Regions from separate parts of the Homo sapiens genome. Here all the other regions are linked to region 4. The links are contacts of gene promoters, found by promoter capture Hi-C in blood cells and fetal thymus (Javierre and others, 2016). All regions are on one chromosome and are shown on one strand. Each heading gives the region's core, a stretch centred on a gene start or on the middle of the fragment in contact. The rest is flanking DNA. Distances are from core to core; before and after follow the strand shown. Region 1 overlaps SENP1 (SUMO specific peptidase 1). Region 2 overlaps LOC105369750 (a long non-coding RNA gene). Region 3 holds the start of H1-7 (H1.7 linker histone). Region 4 holds the start of CCDC184 (coiled-coil domain containing 184).

What was found. Contacts are between HindIII fragments. The CHiCAGO score rates a contact against its expected background, and 5 or more counts as called.
Region 1: a contact is called between a fragment that was not itself captured here and the fragment with the promoter of CCDC184 in region 4, in 2 of 17 cell types (megakaryocytes and erythroblasts). The highest score is 7.4, in megakaryocytes.
Region 2: a contact is called between a fragment that was not itself captured here and the fragment with the promoter of CCDC184 in region 4, in 1 of 17 cell types (megakaryocytes). The highest score is 6.7, in megakaryocytes.
Region 3: a contact is called between the fragment with the promoter of H1-7 here and the fragment with the promoter of CCDC184 in region 4, in 4 of 17 cell types (M1 macrophages, monocytes, neutrophils and 1 more). The highest score is 6.1, in M1 macrophages.

What each region holds. Positions count from the first base shown.
Region 1 is chr12:48,047,684-48,050,383 of GRCh38, forward strand. It overlaps SENP1 (SUMO specific peptidase 1), which reads right to left. Exons shown (of 18, transcript NM_001267594.2): 14 at 1,246-1,449; 15 at 318-397. Among named protein-coding and RNA genes, the nearest start is that of COL2A1, 45 kb to the left of the region's middle. The HindIII fragment of the contact is 4,419 bases long and covers 1-2,700 here.
Region 2 is chr12:48,029,629-48,032,423 of GRCh38, forward strand. It overlaps LOC105369750 (a long non-coding RNA gene), which reads left to right. Exons shown (of 4, transcript XR_944904.3): 3 at 143-290; 4 at 1,461-1,820. Among named protein-coding and RNA genes, the nearest start is that of COL2A1, 27 kb to the left of the region's middle. The HindIII fragment of the contact is 2,215 bases long and covers 209-2,423 here.
Region 3 is chr12:48,327,578-48,330,504 of GRCh38, forward strand. It overlaps H1-7 (H1.7 linker histone), which reads left to right and starts at 1,403. Exons shown (of 1, transcript NM_181788.1): 1 at 1,403-2,702. The coding sequence starts at 1,715. The coding sequence ends at 2,482. RefSeq lists an enhancer at 2,161-2,660. The HindIII fragment of the contact is 4,449 bases long and covers 1-2,927 here.
Region 4 is chr12:48,182,120-48,184,994 of GRCh38, forward strand. It overlaps CCDC184 (coiled-coil domain containing 184), which reads left to right and starts at 1,525. Exons shown (of 1, transcript NM_001013635.4): 1 at 1,525-2,875. The coding sequence starts at 2,004. The coding sequence ends at 2,588. The HindIII fragment of the contact is 3,853 bases long and covers 1-2,875 here.

The DNA.
Region 1 (2,700 bases), core at 29-2,528, 130 kb before region 4:
AAATCAAAGGCACCTCTGTGGGCCTTGGTCTCTTCATCTGAAAAATTAGGAGGTTGGATTAAATGATTTCTAAGTAGCATCTATATCTTTATATCTAGTCTACATTTTAGTGCATTAGGATAGTAATTGCTCCCATTAGGGCATACTTTGGTATTGTTTTTAAACTAAACTTACTTAGATACAAAATATGCATTTTTACTTAATATGAAGATTTTATCAATCACTCCATTGAAGGTATCAAACAACTGAGTTCAATTACTGGAAAAACACCACCTATACCCGATATCAAACTCTTCTGTCCTCAACTCCCTACTTACAAGAGTATTCTGCAGGCTTCATTGTTTATCCCACCCATGGAGTCGTAATAGGTAATATTCTTCTTTCTAAAGTCCACAACCTGAGAATAAGAAAAAAAGTCTCTGTGTTTATGAGATGAAGAAAATCGGTTTATCAGTTTTTCCCTTCCCTGCCCTTTGGAACCTTTTGCCAGACTTCCTACAAAATCATGACAAGTTTGACTGATATTTTGCATTATATTATGCTTAATCTGTAGAGAAAAAAAATGAAGGGTTATTTACATAAAACTATGATGGCACTCATCAACAGGTGGCCCCATTATTGCTGTGAAGCCTTTTTCTAATGTTCATTCTCTCCCTCTGCAAAGTGGGCAACAGTGAAGAAACTACATGATTTTCAGGGAATATAAGGTGAGTATCTCAAAATCACTTCCACAAAGTTTCAGAAAGATGGTGAGCAGATTCTGGGTTTTATTTCTTTATATTGAGAAGTTCCTTTTGGCTTTATGCTTTTGAAATGTAATCCAAAACAGACTGTGAAATAGTTTTATTAACACATTAAGCTAATGCTCACAGAGTCATAAAAATATTAAATTACCAAGTATGCAAGGTAAGTTATGATTAGGCTGAAAATAACAGTCACAGAATCTGAGTGGCAGCATCATTAATAAGTCACTTTTTTTCCCCCATGCCTTCCTTTAAGGCTGCTTAGACACCCTATAACTCTCTTTTAAATATTTCTAGAAAGGGAAATTCCACAGCTTTCTTCAAAATCTACATCCCAATCTTGATAGGAAGTTCATAGATCTATCTGATTTTAGTCAACCTACTACTAAACACTCTTTCTCTCAATAATCAAGGGAACATGTAGAACTACTACTCACTACCCTCTGTGTGTTCTATAAGTACATAGCTTTTACATTTTATCAAAAATGAAAGGGGTACTCACAGCTAGACACCAGTGTACTCCCAGGTGAATGGGCACCAAAAGAATGTCAACAGAAAATACATCTACTTTCTTTGTCCAACGTTTCACTGCCTGATAACCAGCCGTTTTTAATTTAGTGAAGAAAAAGGTATTAAATGCATGCACACTTGGCAAGCCCTTCTCTTTACTTCGCTCCATCAGCATATTCATGTAGAAATTGATGATCTGTGGGAAGAAATTACACCTATTAGAATAGACACTCAGGCCTAGCCTTTCAAAATAGTTGCAGTTGCTGTGTTGAATAGCATATGTAATTGTTTCCTAATAAACTGAATTAAGTCTTCAACATCCAACAGATTCATTTCTCTAAATCAAATTCTGACTAGAAGGGGGAAGGCTGAAGTGCTATAAATGGTGAAAAGAGAAAAAGCTGACATATATATTATGGGGTTGGGAGTACAAATGGGCAGACGCTGGCCAGGCTTGTAGAAGACTGAAGGTTAGGTCAAAAGACTGCAGGAAGACAGGGGTGTTAAGGTGAGGCTTACAGAAAAGGAGAGGAAGGCATGCAAGCAGTTTAATAATGCACATTAGCAGTTACCTTTATCTACTGGAACTGTGTGAGCAATTTAAGTAGATACTGAGCTCAGTTAGCGCCTAGTGTTAGTCAAGTTAAAATCAAGAACTCAAATTTTATATGACAGCCACATGGTTTTACACAAAGATGGAAAACTCTGCTCCATGGTTAAAGACTGCCTTTTCAACTTAATAACCCATCCTGCAGAGGCAAACTCTTTTGGTCTCAAGTAGAACTAAGTGACAGGAGAAGCCATTAATTATACTGGAAAAACACCTGTAAACTGATAGTAGCTCAGCAATGTCACCTTTATATAAAGGCACACATGGAAGTATAAAAACCTACCTTATATGAGACCTAAAGTCAAGTCACAAACATGAAGAATAACGTTCTACCCCAGAATCTATATGGTTAGCTTTCTCATCTTTGTTGATTCCATTTATGCCTTCAATATTAAGTGTGGAAAGAAATTACAATGGCTGAGTGGGGAGATGTGTGATTCTTTGTTAATGAAACGACATCTTCTCTAATAGTGACTATGTTGTGTATGGTTCCATTAGGTCCAGGACTCTTTGGTACTAAAACTTGAAAGTTATCGTGCCGGAAGTTACTGCATACTTACTTTATGTGGCCAGCTGAGGTCAGGCCAGTGTCTGTCAACTGCAAGGAATGAATGGGCTAACTGATCCACGGCTTGGAAATATGACTAAGAAAACAGGCACATTTTTCAGAATGCTTTTTGGGGAATGGGAAAATGCCCCTGTTCTTTGACAAATATTTACACACCAGGATGCCAGAACAGTGAGCTACTGCCCAACAGTAAGCAACGACATACTGGGTAGGCAGCAGGGGAACACTGCCAGGAACACACCGGAGCACGGTCTAGACCAGAGAAAGGG
Region 2 (2,795 bases), core at 66-2,565, 150 kb before region 4:
GATATCCCGGCAGCAGCCCCCACAGCCCCTCTGGGGTGGTGGGCGTCCCTGTGTCGGCACAGCTAGGCTGGGCCCCTCTCCAGGGAAGGGGCTGAAGGGTGTGAAGGACTGGTGTGTATGACTTTGTTTATTTTCTCTGAAGAATCCTGCCTGAGCCCTGCTATAAAAATAACCTGCCTGGAAACCTCATCTCCAAGGGGTAGAAAGAAGCTTTTGTATCCAGGGAAGCTGCTCTAACTGCCTCCCTGTACCTTCGCCTCAGCCCATGCATCAAGGAGGAGCCAGCCAAGGTGATGAGGGGCCAGGGCAAGGGAGAGGGATGTGTGGGGAGGGAGGAGGGGACGGAAGGGCAGCTCAGCAGCCTCTTGCCCTGAGCACGGCAGAAGCCTCTCACTTGTCTGCTCGACCCAGGAAGATCCAAAGGAGGAACTGAGGGAGAGAGAGGGAAAGAGGAAGTCAACAAGAGAAAAAAACACTGGATGTTGAGAGAGACAAGGAGGCCAGGAGACAGAAGATCAAATCCAGGACAGAGGAGGGGCATGGGGAGAGTGGGGAGGAGAGTGAAGTCAAAGGAGAAAGAAAACCAAGAGACGTGTATGCAGAGACACAGAGCTCAAGGGATCAGAAAGAGGCTGTGGCCATGTTTACAGACGTAGCTTAGCATGTGGTCCCCACCACCAAGGGAGAAAGCAGGCACAGCCAGGCTGTCCCTGCCACCTGCTGGGTTCCTGCTCTGCTGCACAGCCCAGCTTCCACTCTGGCTCAGGCTGTGGCAGAAAAGACAAAGGTCCCCCGAGCACCCACTATGGCCAGGCCCTGGGTGAGGCATGAGACCAAGCCCCACTAAGGCTTCTCAAAGTGTTCCTTCCCAGGAGCCAGGCCTGATGGCACGGAGCAAGTCTGCACTGTCACCAAATTCAGGAGGCCTGGATTCAAGTCCCAGTTCTCCTGCTTTTTAGCTGGGTGATCTTGTACAAACCACTTAGAATTTCCCAGCCTGGTTCTCTTATCTGTAAACCATAAATAGTAAACCTCCCTGTCTACCTCCCGGGGCTGTTGAGCAGATCTATGGAAGCATATCTGAACAGGTTCTCCAAGTTGTATGGTGCCAGCAAGACAAGAGGGAATGACCCATTCCTTTAGCCATATTTCTCTAGGTAGCCATCTTAGGATCATGGGTGAGCCATACGGAGAATGAACCAACATAGGAAACTCCTATTACCTCTGTTTTCACAGTAGAGGAAACTGAGGCTTAAACAGGTTAGTAACATGCTCACCATCGTGTATTAATAGCTCTTAGGCAACAGAACATGAATCCAGGTCTCTATATTCAGAGTCTGTGTAGACCCAGAGTGCTGGGCCTTCTCTCCAATCTAATGGCAGAGGCTGCCCAAGAATGACCTGGGACAGTCTGCTCCACTTCCTTTAAGGATGAATTAATTTCCAATTGTTCTATGCAGGCCAGACCTATCTCTCCTTGGAGACTGCACAAGCAGGTGAGCATTAAAGGAAGGCGGGAGGCCAATTTTTGCCCAGCATTAGGAAGAACATTGCTATTGTTCCAGCAATGAAGTGAGCTGCCTGAGAGAGTCCGAGCTCTCTGTGGCTGCGAGGCCAGCAGGCCAGGACTTGCAGAGACCACTGGTGCCTATAGGAGGCACATGCTGGGCTTGACAAAAGAAAGCCCAACATTTTATACCCCTTAAGTCATCCCCAGCCCATGCCTTGTTTCCCCATCCGCACAGTGGTTGGAGCAAGACTAGATGAAGGCTGAGGTCTTGTCTAGCTCTAACTTTCTAGAATTCTGGAATTCCTGAAGGCAGGACTCCAGGCCTCAGGGTCTGGCCAAGAGAACAGAGACGTGGCTGTTTGTCCAGCTTGGTAGAACAGTGGAGCTTATTGAGCTTGCGGTTCCCTGAAACAGAACCAGTCAAAAGGCATACGCAGAGAAGGTAAATTCATCTGTGGGTCTGGTGAGAGTCACTGAAAAAAATGTAGTGCTTGAGGACTGTCCAAGGAGAGCCAATTTTCAACTCATAGCCTGTGATGCTGCGCCCAAACAATGAGAACAGCACACTGGGCTTCATCCAACCACGGCCAGAGGGAAAACAGTGATCTTGCAGATGATGTCCTCATCGATAGCACAGTGACCAAGCGGCCCTGCATGGTGGGGGCCCCTTAAAATGGTTCCCCTTCCCTTGCAGGCCTGGTCAGGTGGTGTTTGTAAAGCAAAGGGAACCCTTTTAGAAATTTGCCTTGAATTAAACGATTGTTGTTCATGAGACCAAGAAGTGTTTATTTCAGCAACAGAAAGACCTTCCTAAGTTTTGAGCCCAGAATTAGAGTGAGGCGGGCTGGGGTCTACTCCCTGGATATGTTTGAGTTAGACTAGAGGCTGGGAAGTGGACAAGATGCTGTTGTAAAGCTTCTAGTGATCGCTATGGGACGTTCCTTCCACTCTTTGCTCTAATGACGATTAATGTTGATGCAGTGACTATTTTAATGTGCTTAGACACCTGCAACCCCATTTGGCCTTCACTACAATATGCGAAGTAACTGGCTAATATTATGTAGGTAGTAAATAGATAAGATTATGCCCATCTTAGGAGAAAATGGAGGATCAGAGAGGGTAATTCTAAGGGCCCTCAGTTAGCAAATGATGGCTTTGAGGCTTGAACCTAAGCCTCTTGGCCCCAAATGCTGTGCTCTTCATAGCACTCTGCCATCCCTCTGCCCCCATTTTGGGGCCATGCAGGGCTGATTTTTCCAGGCTGCTTTTTCTCTTGTTTAGGGAC
Region 3 (2,927 bases), core at 153-2,652, 150 kb after region 4:
TGTAATCCCAGCTTCTTGGGAGGGTGAGACACAGGAATTGCTTGAACCCAGGAGGTGGAGGTTACAGTGAGCCAAGATTGTGCCATTACATAGCCTGGGCTGAGCAAGACTCTGTCTCAAAAAAAAAAAAAAAAAGCACTGGTCTAAGCTACTTCCTGGAGCTTTGATTTTTAAAAGAAACTGTCACTGTCTAGCCTGTGACTGATGAATGTATGTGATTGCCCTCTGGAAAAGTATGATATGCTTGGCAATTTGAAGTATTCTTAGAATAATACTTTAAATTATTCCCAACTAAACTGTGTCCAAAATAGGTCCTTGATAAGCTAATCCTTACTTGGCCCCCTTCATTTCCAACCCTTTGAAATTCACTCTGCTCCTTTCTCCTGATCTTCTGGAAGTTTCTTTCTGAATCTAGAGAAACTCTCCTCACCAGAGAGGAATGATGTAAGCAGGCTCAATTAAATGCCCGCTGTGTATAATGAAGCATATTGTTAGGTGCAGCATGGGACATAGAAGTTCAAAGACTATAGCTCTTGAGGATATCTTTATTTAGTTGGAAATACAAGACAGAAACATTCAAAGTAAAGTAAATTTATTCCTTATATTTAGGTAGCCCTTGTTCATCTACCTCTTCTGAAATTTTGCAATAATTCTGTGATGTTGGTAGGAAGGGAATGTGATGTTAGATAAGAAGTCAGATGGCCGGCACATCCATCTGACAGCCACACCACTGATATTAAGGGATTTGTTAATGTCATATGGCTCCTAAAGAGCTAGGATATGCATCCATATCTTCCAGCTCCAAGTACGAGTTTTTTTCTTTTTAAAAAATATTGTGTCACATTATACCCTCTAATGCCAAATTCATTTAAAATAAAGAAAAAGCCATATAAGATTGCAGAAGTAATTTTGGTGGTTGTGGTAGTTAAGAGGCAAGAAATCATTTGAAAGAGTTTGGGGAGTCTTCAGTGAAGAAGGATAATGTAGCAGTACCTTGAAAGATGAGCAGGACTTATCTGGGCAGACAAAGAGGATGAGAAATCCAAGAGAGGGGATGAGATGGAAAAAAACACAGTATGTTCAAAGAATAATGATTAGACCAGTATCCTCAGGCGATGTGAAATCTAGATTGTTTCAGTACAGTTGAATGCGTCATCTAAATTTCCCAGGTGTGGGAATCAGTGTTTAGGGTAGAGGGATCACACAATTGGTTCCTTTTTTACTTCATGCTCTTGCACAGAATCCACTGTGTAGAATTAGGGAGACATGACTTCAGATACCTGACTGGTGGAATTAAAGGTGGGAGTTTCTAATCTGGGTTGTGTTTCATGGACTACCCCGTGTACTTTCTACAGGCAGTGTGTTGCTTGTTTTGGATAGTTGGGAGCAGCTTCGCTCACCTTAAGGAACTGTGGGTAGATGGTTTGCAGGACCACATACACACACAAAATAGCCGACTAAAGAAAGCGGTGGAGATCGAGATCAGTAAGTTTGATTTGGGAACAAAACCCTGGAGACTCTATAGGTAGGTGACTGTTGGGGGTGGACAGGCGCTGAAGACTTGGATTGGTTTAGACCTAGAAGGAAGTGGCATTTGATTGGTTATTATAAGTGAAAAGGGCCCCTCCCCGGGTGAGATATGCCAGCCCCATAATTAGGACCTGAAAATCTCTGCCAGGCCTGCCTTTGTGACGTGGCCCAGTCTACCTCAGCTATGGAACAGGCCTTGACTGGTGAGGCCCAAAGCCGGTGGCCCCGCAGAGGCGGGAGTGGGGCCATGGCTGAGGCGCCTGGGCCCAGTGGCGAATCCCGAGGACACTCAGCCACTCAGCTGCCAGCGGAAAAAACTGTCGGGGGACCATCGAGGGGCTGCTCAAGCTCCGTGCTCAGAGTGTCCCAGTTGGTGCTCCAGGCCATCTCCACTCACAAAGGGCTGACTCTGGCAGCTCTCAAGAAGGAGCTCCGAAACGCCGGCTACGAAGTGCGCAGGAAGAGCGGCCGCCACGAAGCGCCCAGGGGGCAGGCCAAGGCCACGCTCCTCCGGGTCAGCGGCAGCGACGCCGCCGGCTACTTCAGGGTCTGGAAGGTTCCCAAGCCCAGGAGAAAGCCGGGACGCGCGAGGCAAGAGGAGGGCACGCGCGCTCCCTGGAGGACCCCAGCCGCGCCCCGGAGCTCCCGGAGGCGCCGCCAGCCCCTTCGCAAGGCGGCCAGGAAGGCCAGAGAAGTGTGGAGACGGAACGCGAGGGCGAAAGCCAAGGCCAATGCCAGGGCGAGGAGGACCAGGAGGGCAAGGCCGAGAGCCAAGGAGCCGCCGTGTGCCAGAGCCAAGGAGGAAGCGGGAGCGACAGCGGCAGACGAGGGGCGAGGACAGGCCGTGAAGGAAGACACCACGCCGAGGTCAGGGAAGGACAAGAGGCGAAGCTCCAAGCCCAGGGAAGAGAAGCAGGAGCCCAAGAAGCCCGCACAGCGGACCATCCAGTAGCCAACGCGGGCTAAAACCGACCGGACATCTAGCGGGCAGGGGAAGACTCCACTAAAGACTTCCACAAAGACCTCCCCTAAATCTGAAGGTCTTCCTGATCCAGTTGGGAATGCATCTTGTGGGAGCAGCTTCACTCCCACCACGGACCAATGCCTTTCCCCCATAGGCCCCAAGAAGAGCGGCTGTCACACTCATTGAAATGAAATGGACCTCTAGACCACCTTGTGTCTGTTTCCTCTTTGCCGCACCTGGAAGGGAAGGGGTGGGTGGTGGTAACGTTCAGTGAAGACAGTAAATTAGCTGAGATTCTGTTCCTGCTGCAGAACTCAGAGAAATGTCTTTTAGAAGGAGAGAAAACAGAGGAAAACCAGCAGCTTAACAAGTGTTGAAGTATTGTTAGATACTCTAGCAAATCCAAATTGAGTTCTGGGGAGGAAGGCATGTT
Region 4 (2,875 bases), core at 275-2,774:
TAAGATTGGTATAGGTCAAGCAGTCCTCTAGTGTCACAAAACTTTCCCTGGGCCAGCCTCACTCTTCATCACCAAGCACATAACCAGGGAAACCCAAAGGTAACACATTTGCTGTCACTGAACCGCCAGTCTACAAAACACTCACCTTTACGTAGTTCTTCTCTATCTTGAAGTGATATAGTTTGTTTCTCTTTCCCAGATTTATTCTTATGAACTTCATTTTTGGCTTCCGATCACTTGGCTTCCCTAATTTCCTAGGGTCATTATTAATTATTGTGCTCTGCCCAGGTGCTGATTCCTTCTCAATCTGCAATCATCTACGTATATTAAAGACAATTTTTCTTCTTCCTCCACCCTTCCTGCTCCACCCCTTAAATAGGGAAAGGGCTTGTCACAAAGGTTGGGGATACTCAGTGTATGTCTGAACTTGGGCACTGAAAGAGAGAGCGGGAATTACTCTAACACACAGTCCCCCCATCCATACCCTCCACACAACGGTCAACAGTTTACCTTTTCACCTGTGAGATGATGCAGACTGTTATTCAGAATTAGAAATAGTATTATAGATTATCCAGTCCAATTCCCTAACAGATGAGGAAAATGATGTGGCCAAGGTCGCTGAATGAATAAGTGGCAGAAACGAAACTGAATTCAGGTCTCCTAAAACCCACTACGTTTGGCTTGGGGAGTTCTGGATGAGAGCGTGGGACTTGGTGGTTTTTGTTATTCATTCAATAACTATATTAAGCATCTACATACTAGGTGCCAGGCACTATTTTAGGAGCTGGGGATTCCGTGATGGAGGGTGCAGGGGAGACAAAAATCTCTCCCCTTATGGAGCTTTCATTCTCAAAACTTAAGCACTTGGCCTCCCCATCTGGGACAAACTCCCAGAGACCTGCGTAGGAGCGGTAGGGTCTCATAAAGGAGGGAGTCCCATCCTTCCCCCGCTCCGGTGATTTCTATAGCTAGAGGGCTGATTTACTGCAGAAACCTCCGTAGCGCCCTCCTCCTGCCTCTGCACCGTCAGGCCCGGTGGGTCCGGCTCCAGAGCGCCACCGTGCCCCAGCTCAACTCTGGGATCATTAGCAACAGCCTCTCTACCCTCTCCGCTTTCCTGCGCATCGCTGGAGGACAGGGAGGCAGGACTCGACTTTAGCGCCATCCTCTGAGAAAGGAATGCGGGCTGGAAAAATCTTTCCAGGGCAGTCTCGCTGGGTCTCATACCCCGGCTAGGGGAGGGACGATCTCTCCCGGACTTGGAGGTTTCTGCAGCAGACGGCTCTCTCATACTTCCCTATTAAACATTGCGACCACACGCTCTTTCCAGCCTTGGCCGAAGCCACTGTAGCGTCCCCTCTCCTCCCCCCACCCCGCTAGTCCAGACTCCAGAGCCCCACTGCAGCTTCCAGCCATCCTCCCTTTTTCTTCGCCACTTCCTGGTTACCATGGAGACACACGTCATTTACGTGCCGTGCGTCGCCTTGGAAACAGAGGAGCATCCGCGACACCCCCGGGAGACCCACCCCAGCTGCTGCTGCCACACTCGCGGGCGCTGCCCGGTAATGGCCTGGGGGAGTCCCGAGTCCGACGCGCCGCTGGCCTCAGCCTGGACGCGGACCCCTCCGCGAGCGCGTCTGTGACCCACGGAACCGGCAGGCGCTCTCTGCTTGTGGCGCCCAGAGGGCGGCGCTGACACGGGCGCGATCCGGGAGGCGAGGCAGGGCAGGGCACTTTCGTCCCGGGGCGATCCCAAGAGACGCCGGCTCTGGGACCCTCGCCGGGTCCTCGTCCCGCAGCCTCTTCTCGGCCTCCCGCGATCCTGCCTGCGCCCTCTGCCCAGGACTCGTCTCTCACGTCGGCTCCCCGCCAGTCTCGGGAGCCTCCGCTTCCCTCGGCTCCCGCTAGCCCCTCCCGGGACCTCTCCCCCTCCACCCCCTCCCCCACCCCGGAGGCCGGGCTGGACGCGACCCAGAGCCTCCGCCACCCGCTTCTGCCACTCAATGGAGGACGGTCTGCTGGAGATCATGACCAAGGACGGCGGCGACATGCCGGCGCCCCTGGAGGTGTCCACCGTGCCGGCAGTGGGGGACGTGATCTCCGGGGAGTACAACGGCGGCATGAAGGAACTGATGGAGCACCTGAAAGCCCAGCTGCAAGCCCTGTTTGAGGACGTGAGGGCCATGAGGGGGGCCCTGGACGAGCAGGCCTCGCACATCCAGGTGCTCTCGGACGACGTGTGCGCCAACCAGCGAGCCATCGTCTCCATGTGCCAGATTATGACCACTGCGCCCCGCCAGGGCGGCTTGGGCGTGGTCGGCGGCAAGGGGAGCTTCCAGAGCGACCCCCAAGAGCCGGAGACTCCTTCGCCTGGGATCGGGGACAGCGGCTTGCTGGGTCGCGATCCCGAGGACGAGGAGGAAGAGGAAGAAGAGAAGGAGATGCCCAGCCCCGCCACACCCTCCAGTCACTGTGAGCGCCCCGAAAGCCCCTGTGCTGGTCTCCTTGGGGGGGACGGGCCACTTGTGGAGCCCCTCGACATGCCCGACATTACCCTGCTGCAACTGGAGGGCGAGGCCTCCCTGTGAGGGGACTCCGTGGGGCACTACCTTCCCGGGCTGTCTTTGGGTTTCCGAGTGCATGACGCGAGGGGGACTGAACGGCGCGGTGCGGCATGCTTCACTTGGACAGCTGCTCTTGTGGGTCAGGCAGAGAGAGACTCCCTCGAGGAAGGATTTGTAGGGTGAAGGACTTTGGGAGCATCGAGAATTCTTTCTGCCCAACTAAGCGAATTATAGCGAACTGCGGAAAGGTGAGGCTCCGGGAGAGGAAGCGCCCATCTCTGGACTCCCATCCATCCCTATCCTGTCCTTTC